3 separate regions of the Homo sapiens genome follow, and all the other regions are linked to region 1. Evidence: promoter capture Hi-C in 16 types of primary human blood cells and fetal thymus (Javierre and others, 2016). All regions are on one chromosome and are shown on one strand. Each heading gives the region's core, a stretch centred on a gene start or on the middle of the fragment in contact. The rest is flanking DNA. Distances are from core to core; before and after follow the strand shown. Region 1 holds the start of ZNF527 (zinc finger protein 527). Region 2 holds the start of LINC00665 (long intergenic non-protein coding RNA 665). Region 3 holds the start of LOC107985304 (a long non-coding RNA gene).

Region 1 (2,700 bases), core at 127-2,626:
CTGACAATTTCTCATTGCCTCTTCCAGTGATGACCCTAATTCAAACCACCATCATCATAAGACCATTGGTCTCCAAAATAGTTTATACATAAATGAGCCTGTCATTGACATGTAGAGACCTGGGTCAACAGTACAGATGGAGGTCCCCAGCCAGTCCCCTTCTGTTCCCACTGCCATCCTTGTCCCACATCGTAAGAGGTCTTCTATTCCCACATGTGGACACTCCAGCTTGCATATCTAAGCTCTGTCTAGCCTTACCAAATTGCTCTCATTTGGCCACATTTTGTGGATAGGCAGCACATTCCACCTTTGGAAGACAGATCAAGGGAAGGGTCTTTGGACACAGAGGAGATACAGGCTCTGGAAGCAGGCTGGAGTCCATTTGAACAGGAAATCCTGGGGATTTGGATACCCAGAGCATGGTCTGAAAGAAGGTTGTGAGATCTTTGCAGGCATGTTTCTGCCTATGGACTTTCACCAGGAAGGAAACTGCTTGACTAGAGGAGGGCCAAAGTGTGGCCTTTTGTATGTTTAATAATATTAAAATGTTAAATATATTATTTTGACCAATTGAGAAATAATAATAATAATAAAATAGGCCGGGTGCGATGGCTCATGCCTGTAACCCCAGCACTTGGGGAGGCCGAGGCAGGTGGATCACAAGTTCAGGAGATGAAGACCATCCTGGCCAACATGGTGAAACCCCATCCCTACTAAAAATACAAAAATTAGCTGGGCGTGGTGGCAGGTGCCTGTAATCCCAGCTCCTCAGGAGGCTGAGGCAAGAGAATCGCTTGAACCCGGGAGGCGGAGGTTGCAGTGAGCGCCGAGATTGCCTCAATAAAAGATACCACAGACCCCGCCCATGGCAGGAGATGGGGGTGAAGGAACAGTAAGACCAGGAGACAGTCAGATACACATCGGATCAGTGGTATCCTCACAGTAACAGAAACGGTCACCCCCAATGTCAGCCACAGTCTCTTTCATCCACAATCACTTTCACATTCAGCTACCCACAATCACGGGACGTGATTTAAAATACAGAAGCTCCCTGCACTGACAAAATCCGCCGCTCCTTTCGTCGGCAAGCATAAAGGTGTGCAGCAACAGTCACACACGAACCACCACACCCAAGCATTCAACCAGTCAGCCCCGCGCGCAGCCTGGCCGCTTTCCCCAACACAGCAGCTCAAGGTCACTGGAGAGCCTACGACCGCACACAGCCCTCTCCGGTACCTGCCCCCGTGGCGCAGGCGCGCAGTGGAGGGGGCCGCGGGGTTCTCTGGGAGATGTAGTTCAACGATGACGGCCGTGGCGCAAAGCGTTCTGGGGCTCGTGGTTCGCGGGGTCCATGGGGAACGCGGTGTCGCTGGTTCAGATCTCGCAGAGCTCAGAGTCCTGCATGCCTCAGTCCTCGCCTCGCTCCTCCTCGCGGAGGATTCTGGGAGGTGACGTCGCGGGTCTCGGTCGCGGGGCCCGTTTGCAGAGCCCGCGGCGCCGGGAGGTGAGTGGGGCCGGGCCCCGGGCGGGAGCGGGAAGTCAAGGGCGGGCTCCGGGTGGCCCGGCCGCGCCAGGGATGGGAACCCGGCAGGAGTCGCTGGGGAGGCCGTGTGTGTTTCACTGTATTACCAACTATGTGACAGGCTGCGGGTGTGACAGAATGTGATCTTGTGTCACTGTGTGTGTGTGTTTGTGCGCGTGCGCCCGCTTGTGTGTGACTGTAACCATCTGTGTCTGGGGGTGAAACTGTGAATATGTGTGTTTGTGTGTGACTGTCTCTGCAGGTGTAGCTGTGTATGTGTTTATGAGAGACTGGGGTGTGACATTGTGTGTTTGTGTAAATGCATGTGTGTGGTTATGTGACCACCTGTTTCTGCGGATACAATTGCGTTTGAATGTGTGTGACAGCAAGTGTGATTGTGCGACTATGACCATCTGTCTCCGCAGGTATAGTTTTGTATCAGTAATTGTGACAAGATGTGTGACTTCTGTGGTATGCTACTTTGTGTGTGATTGTGTGTGATTGTTTATCTCTGTTGGTGTAGTTGTATGTTACCATCTATCTTTGTGCTTATGTGGCTGTGTATTGTGTGAGATTATGGGTGTGTTTGTGTGACTCTATACATTTGTGATTGGGTGAGAATTTGTGTGTATATATGAGATTGTGGGATTGATGTATGAAGCACAGAAATATTAGAATTACCCAAGTTCACACAGTTAACAAGTGACAGCACCAGAACTCAAACCCAAGCAGTTTAGCTCTAGAGGTCTCGCTTTTTTTTTTTTTTTTCTCTTGAGATGGAGTCTCACTCTATTGCCCAGGCTGGAGTGCAATGATGCGATCTCGGCTCACTGCAACCTCCGCCTCCCAGGTTCAAGTGATTCTCCTGCCTCAGCCTCCCAAGTAGCTGGGATTACAGGCGCGCACCACCACGCCCAGCTAGTTTTTGTATTTTTAGTAGAGACGAGGTTTCACCATGTTTGGCCAGGCTGGTCTCCAACTCCTGACCTCATGATCCGCCCACCAGAGCCTCCCACAGTGCTGGGATTACAGGCGTGAGGCGCTGCGCCCTGCTGCAGTTTTTATGGACAATTTCAAGCTGCACTACACTAAGGAAATAACTGCTAGGGACTGAGTTGCCTAGTGCAAAGTAGTCCAGAATTAGGGGGTGAAATTAGGGGGTGATGTATACTGAATTC
Region 2 (2,700 bases), core at 104-2,603, 1.0 Mb before region 1:
TTTTTTTTCAGGTGGCACTCCCCCCTACAAGCTGGCTGTCCTTCCGGGGGAGCACACAGCGGGCCCGGCTCTCGCCCGGTGACGTTTCTCCCGGTGACGTTTCTCGCTGGGGCCTCCAAATGTCGTACCTGAGCGAGTTAGAGAAAACGCCACACTTTGAGACAAATTAAAAGTCCATTTATTTAGCTGGCCGCCAAGAGATGGCTAATGCTCAAAATTCTCTCCGCTCTGAAGAAGGGGCTAGATCTTCTTTTATACTTTGGTTTAGAAAGGGGAGGGGAGGTCTAGTTAAAACAATTTTACAGAAATAAAGTAAGCAAAAAAGTTAAAAGGATAAATGGTTACAGGAAAGTTAATAGTTCCAGGTGCAGGGGCTTTAAGATTATTACAAGGTGATAGACGCGGGGCTTTTGGGCATAATCAATCGGATGAATTCCTCGGAACTGCGGATATAGCTTGCCACAGTATCTTAACAGTTAATTGCATTCTTGGATGTGCTGGGAGTCAGCTTGCACAAGTTAAGTCCTTGAGGAAGGGGCTGCCAGTGAAAGAGCCAAGATGGAGTCCATCTGGCGCTCTTAGCTAAGGGAGAGTCAATTCAGGTGGAAACAAGGCTAGGTGATTTAAGGAAAGGGAGAGTCTAAAAACAGGGTTAGTAAAAACCAGGTTGGGCATTACACTACTAAGATATCAAAACCAGGAACTTACTTCCTTTAAAACAATTCCAAACTAACTCGCTGTGCCTTACACAGAAATTTCCCCCAAGAAATATGGTTTTATAAAGCCTGAGAAGTTGTTGCTATTAGGACAAACACCAAAACTAAAAATTGGTTTAATTAGCAACAACAAAATTCCATTTTAACTGGCTGTCCTTATCAGAGACAGTCCACTAAATAATACAACTGGCAAAAAGTGAGATTTTGTAAAGGTTGGGGTGCTTTATTATAAACATAACATAAACCAGGAATGTATTTTAATAAACCTCAACCTGCGGGTCACTCCCTCCCAGGCGTGCAACAAAACACCTGCCTAGAAATCAAAAGGCGTTTTACCCGAGTGGGCTGAAAAAGCCCCGTTTTTACCTTTAATCTGGAGACAATACGGGTCAGAGGTCAGGAAACTACATCAGCGCCAGTGCGAGCGCCCACGAGTCCGGTGGACGGATGAGAAACGGCCGGGGGGCAGCCTGAGTCCCAGTTCCCGCCGTGGCAATGGCCAATTTCCCACCCGTGGACGCAAAAGGCCAGGACTCCACGCTGCTGACCCTCCAGCGTCCCATGTCCGGCAGGCACGTGGCCGAATAGCCCAAGACTGAGGACTCACACTTCCCACTTTGCACCTGGAGGCCACCTGCAGACCAACCTTGCGCCAGGCTTCCGGAAATGGGAGGGCGGGCTTCCGGAAACGGCGGCCAATGGGAAACGTGATCAGATGTTACTAGGCAGACAGTCCGTTTCCAGGCAACACAGAAGAAAGGAACGCGCTCAGTCAGCCTCAAATAGACGGAGATTTCAGCCAATGGATGTGCAGGTTCCCTCCACATTAGCCAATAAGAAGTGCTTGGGGCCTACCTGCCTACAAGCACAGCAAAAGCTTTCCTGCGCATTTTTGCGCTGGAATGGCTACCTGCCGCGCCAAATCAAAATTTACAATCACCCTTGGTGCTGTTTCCTGCACTTTCTTGGAGATTTGCACCAGGCGCTGGAGACCCTCCCACCTGGCCCATGCCTGCCACCCGGTGAACACCAAGACCCAACCTTCTGCACCACCAGTCTTGTTGTCAGCGAACAGGCTAGTAAATTATTGAAGGGGTGGCCTGCCCCTCCACACCTGTGGGTATTTCTCGTCAGGTGGAACGAGAGACTGAGAAAAGAAAGAGACACAGAGACAAAGTATAGAGAAAGAAAAGTGAGCCCAAGGGACCGGCGCTCAGCACACGGAGGACCTACAGGGACACTGGTCTCTGAGTTCCCTCAGTATTTATTGATCATTATCTCTACCATCTCGGAGAGGGGGATGTGGCAGGCCAATAGGGTAATAGTGGGGAGAGGGTCAGCAGGAAAACGTGAACAAAGGTCTCTGTGTCATAAATAAGTTTAAGGAAAGGTGCTGTGCCTTGATGTGCACTTATACAAACATCTCGGTGCATTAAAGAGCAGTATTGCCGCCAGCGTGTCTCACCTCCAGCCCTAAGGATGTTTTCTCCTATCTCAGTAAGTAGAACATACAATCGGGTTTTACACCAAGACATTCTATTGCCCAGGGACGAGCAGGAGACAGATGCCTTCCTCTTACCTCAACTGCAAAGAGGCCTTCCTCTTTTACTAATCCTCCTCAGCACAGACCCTTTTCGGGTGTCGGGCTGGGGGATGTCGGGCTGGGGGACAGTCAGGTCTTACCCTTCCCATGAGGCCATATCTCAGGCTATCACATGGGGAGAAATCTTGGACAATACCTGGCTTTCCTAGACAGAGGTCCCTGCGGCCTTCCGCAGTGTATTGTGTCCCTGGGTACTTGAGATTAGAGAATGGTGATGACTTTTAACAAGCATATTATCTTCAAGCACTTTTTTAACAAAGCATAGCCCTAAATCCATTGAACCTTGAGTCAACACAGCACATGTCTCTGTGAGCACAGGGTTGGGGCTAGGGTTACAGATTAACAGCATCTCAAGGCAGAAGAATTTTTCTTAGTACAGAA
Region 3 (2,899 bases), core at 151-2,650, 1.1 Mb before region 1:
ATGAAGGGCTTACCATATGGCAGCCATGGTTCTGGGCACTTTATGAATTTAACTCCTTTGTGCTATGGTTCTTTGTACTCCATTTTAGAAGAAGCCTGAGAAGATGATGCACAGATAGAGAGGCACCAGGACTTGAGAGGCACCAGGACTTGGGAGGCATGTTGATCCATCTCCAGGAAAGACTGAGAAAAAGAGCGTTGAATATAAGAAAAAATACTTCCTCTGTTCTCAGATCGTATTTGTTTTAAGGCCACACCTTTTTGAAGTTTTCAGTTTGAAACACAACCTGGACTGAAATCATGAGGGAGGTTGTGTAGGAAAGAATCATCAAGGGACTTAGTTGGGAGCTTCTCTACCACAGCTTACTCCTTATGGTATTAACCCCCTTTAAGTGTAAATGTCTTTGGTTTAAAACGTTTGTACCTCATCTGTTACCAGAGTGTTCATACTGGAGAGAAACCCTATGAATTTACTGAATGTGGGGGAACTGTTACTCATATGTTGCATTTCGTCGAACGTGCAAGTCATGCTGAAGAGAAACCCTGTGCTTCTAAGGAGTATTGACAAGCCCTTAGCTAGATGACAATCTCATTGAGAAGCAGAAAATTCATGCTGGAGAGAAACTAGTGAAGGTAGCAATACTTCATTGAATATTAGAAAATTTTTCTAGAGAGAAAGCATTGAATATACTGAGTATGATAACATTTCCTCTCAAACCTTATCCCTTACTCTGCATTTGGGAGATCATACACAGAGAAGCCTTATAAATGTAAGAGATGTGGAAATATCTTCAGCCAAAAGTAAATCCTCACTCATCAAGAAATTTTTACTGGAGAGAAACCTTGTGAATGTGGGAAAGCTTCCATTCAGATGTCACACCTCAGCCAGCAGAGAATTTACAGTGGGGAAAACCCCTTTGCCTGTAAGGTATGTGGAAAAGTCTTCAGCCACAAATCAAACCTCACTGAGCATGAGCATTTTCACACGAGAGAGAAACCTTTTGAATGTAACGAGTGTGGAAAAGCCTTTAGCCAAAAGCAGTATGTCATTAAACATCAGAACACCCATACTGGCGAGAAGCTTTTCGAATGTAATGAATGTGGAAAATCATTTAGCCAGAAGGAAAACCTCCTTACGCACCAGAAAATTCACACTGGAGAAAAACCTTTTGAGTGTAAAGATTGCGGGAAAGCTTTCATTCAGAAGTCAAACCTCATCAGACACCAGAGAACTCACACAGGAGAGAAGCCCTTTGTATGTAAGGAGTGTGGAAAAACCTTCAGTGGCAAATCCAACCTTACTGAGCATGAGAAAATCCATATTGGAGAGAAGCCTTTTAAATGTAGTGAATGTGGAACAGCCTTTGGCCAGAAGAAGTACCTCATAAAACATCAGAACATTCACACTGGAGAGAAACCCTATGAATGTAACGAATGTGGAAAAGCCTTCTCTCAGCGAACATCACTTATTGTACATGTGAGGATTCATTCAGGTGATAAACCTTACGAATGCAATGTTTGTGGAAAAGCCTTCTCTCAGAGCTCATCTCTCACTGTGCATGTGAGAAGCCATACAGGGGAGAAGCCCTATGGTTGTAATGAATGTGGGAAAGCTTTCTCTCAGTTCTCAACCCTTGCTCTGCATTTGAGAATACACACAGGTAAGAAGCCTTATCAGTGCAGTGAATGTGGGAAAGCTTTCAGCCAGAAGTCACACCACATTAGACACCAGAAAATTCATACTCACTAAAAACCCCATGAAAGCCTTGAAAGTGGGAAAGCTTTCATTAGAAATTTGCACCTCATCATGCCCCAGAAATAATCCTTCTGAAGCAAAGCACCACGAATGAGGTTAACTTTAACAAGTACTAAAAACTTAAGGGACACCAGAAAATTTGTACTGAAGAGAAAGACATGCATATGATTAAAACCCTGTGTCCAACAGAGAAACCTGCAGCAGAGATAATGGTGAAAGTTTAGGCACATTTTCACTAAAAGTGGGAACAGAAAATGGAGGCCTGTTTTTTATTGCTACCACCATAGATCTGGAGATCTTCGCCAGTAACAAGAAAAATTAAGTTGTAAATATTGGAAAGGAACAGACAAAAATAGATGACATGGTCATCTACAACTAATATTAAGACTCCTGTGGTATTGATTGAGCAGAGCAGAAGAGATTTCAAAAAAAGACCTATGCATTTATTAGAATTTGGAATATGATACAAGTGGCATCAGGAAATGAGGAAATAATGGAACTATTTTTTTTAAGTGGAGGTAGTTTGTTCTCCAAGGGGGAAAAATAGACCATGAACTATACACAAAAGTGAATCCAGAGATTAAAAACAGAAATATGGAAAAGCTATGTACTAAAATGCATATGACCTTGGGAATAGGGAAACATTCCTTGGAACAATTTGAGAAATACTTAGCGGTTCTACTTATGAGTATGAATGCTCAGGAAATACGCACTAGGATATTTACTGTGGCTTGATTTGTAGTAGCCAAAAATTAGAAACAACTGAGAAAGCCCATCACGAACAATATGGGAAATTCTTATGTAATACTATATATCTGTAAAATGCAACAAATGAAATCCACATGTATTAACAGAAAGATCCCAGAATTGTTGAGGGGGGATCAAGTTGCAGAATGATACAGATAGTACAATGACTTTTTTGTAAATTTGAATTAAAAGTTTCCTCATAAAACTCAGTACTATCTATTGGTAATGGATGCATATATGTATGTACATGTTTTTGAAACGGATTGGAAGGATACAGACCAAACTCTTGATAGTGGTCACCTGTGAAGAGTGGAGAAGGGAAAATAATGAGTGTGGGAGGTGGGATGGGTATTGGTTAAAGGGGACTTCAGCTTTTTATATAAACATCCACTTCTCT

Evidence for each region. Contacts are between HindIII fragments. The CHiCAGO score rates a contact against its expected background, and 5 or more counts as called.
Region 2: the fragment with the promoter of LINC00665 here is called in contact with the fragment with the promoter of ZNF527 in region 1 in 8 of 17 cell types (fetal thymus, total B cells, naive B cells and 5 more); the score reaches 13.7 in fetal thymus.
Region 3: a fragment that was not itself captured here is called in contact with the fragment with the promoter of ZNF527 in region 1 in 1 of 17 cell types (M2 macrophages); the score reaches 5.1 in M2 macrophages.

The regions. Positions count from the first base shown.
Region 1 is chr19:37,369,723-37,372,422 of GRCh38, forward strand. It overlaps ZNF527 (zinc finger protein 527), which reads left to right and starts at 1,377. Exons shown (of 5, transcript NM_032453.2): 1 at 1,377-1,504. RefSeq lists enhancers at 747-886, 907-956, 1,127-1,436 and a silencer at 1,467-1,776. The HindIII fragment of the contact is 7,295 bases long and covers 1-2,700 here.
Region 2 is chr19:36,330,365-36,333,064 of GRCh38, forward strand. LINC00665 (long intergenic non-protein coding RNA 665) reads right to left here and starts at 1,354. Exons shown (of 6, transcript NR_038279.1): 1 at 1,083-1,354; 2 at 1-128. The HindIII fragment of the contact is 13,687 bases long and covers 1-1,591 here.
Region 3 is chr19:36,235,571-36,238,469 of GRCh38, forward strand. It overlaps ZNF146 (zinc finger protein 146), which reads left to right. Exons shown (of 4, transcript NM_007145.3): 4 at 89-2,899. The coding sequence starts at 871. The coding sequence ends at 1,749. LOC107985304 (a long non-coding RNA gene) reads right to left here and starts at 182. Exons shown (of 2, transcript XR_001753933.3): 1 at 14-182. It also overlaps a transcript of ZNF565 not described here. RefSeq lists a silencer at 804-1,004. The HindIII fragment of the contact is 420 bases long and covers 1,191-1,610 here.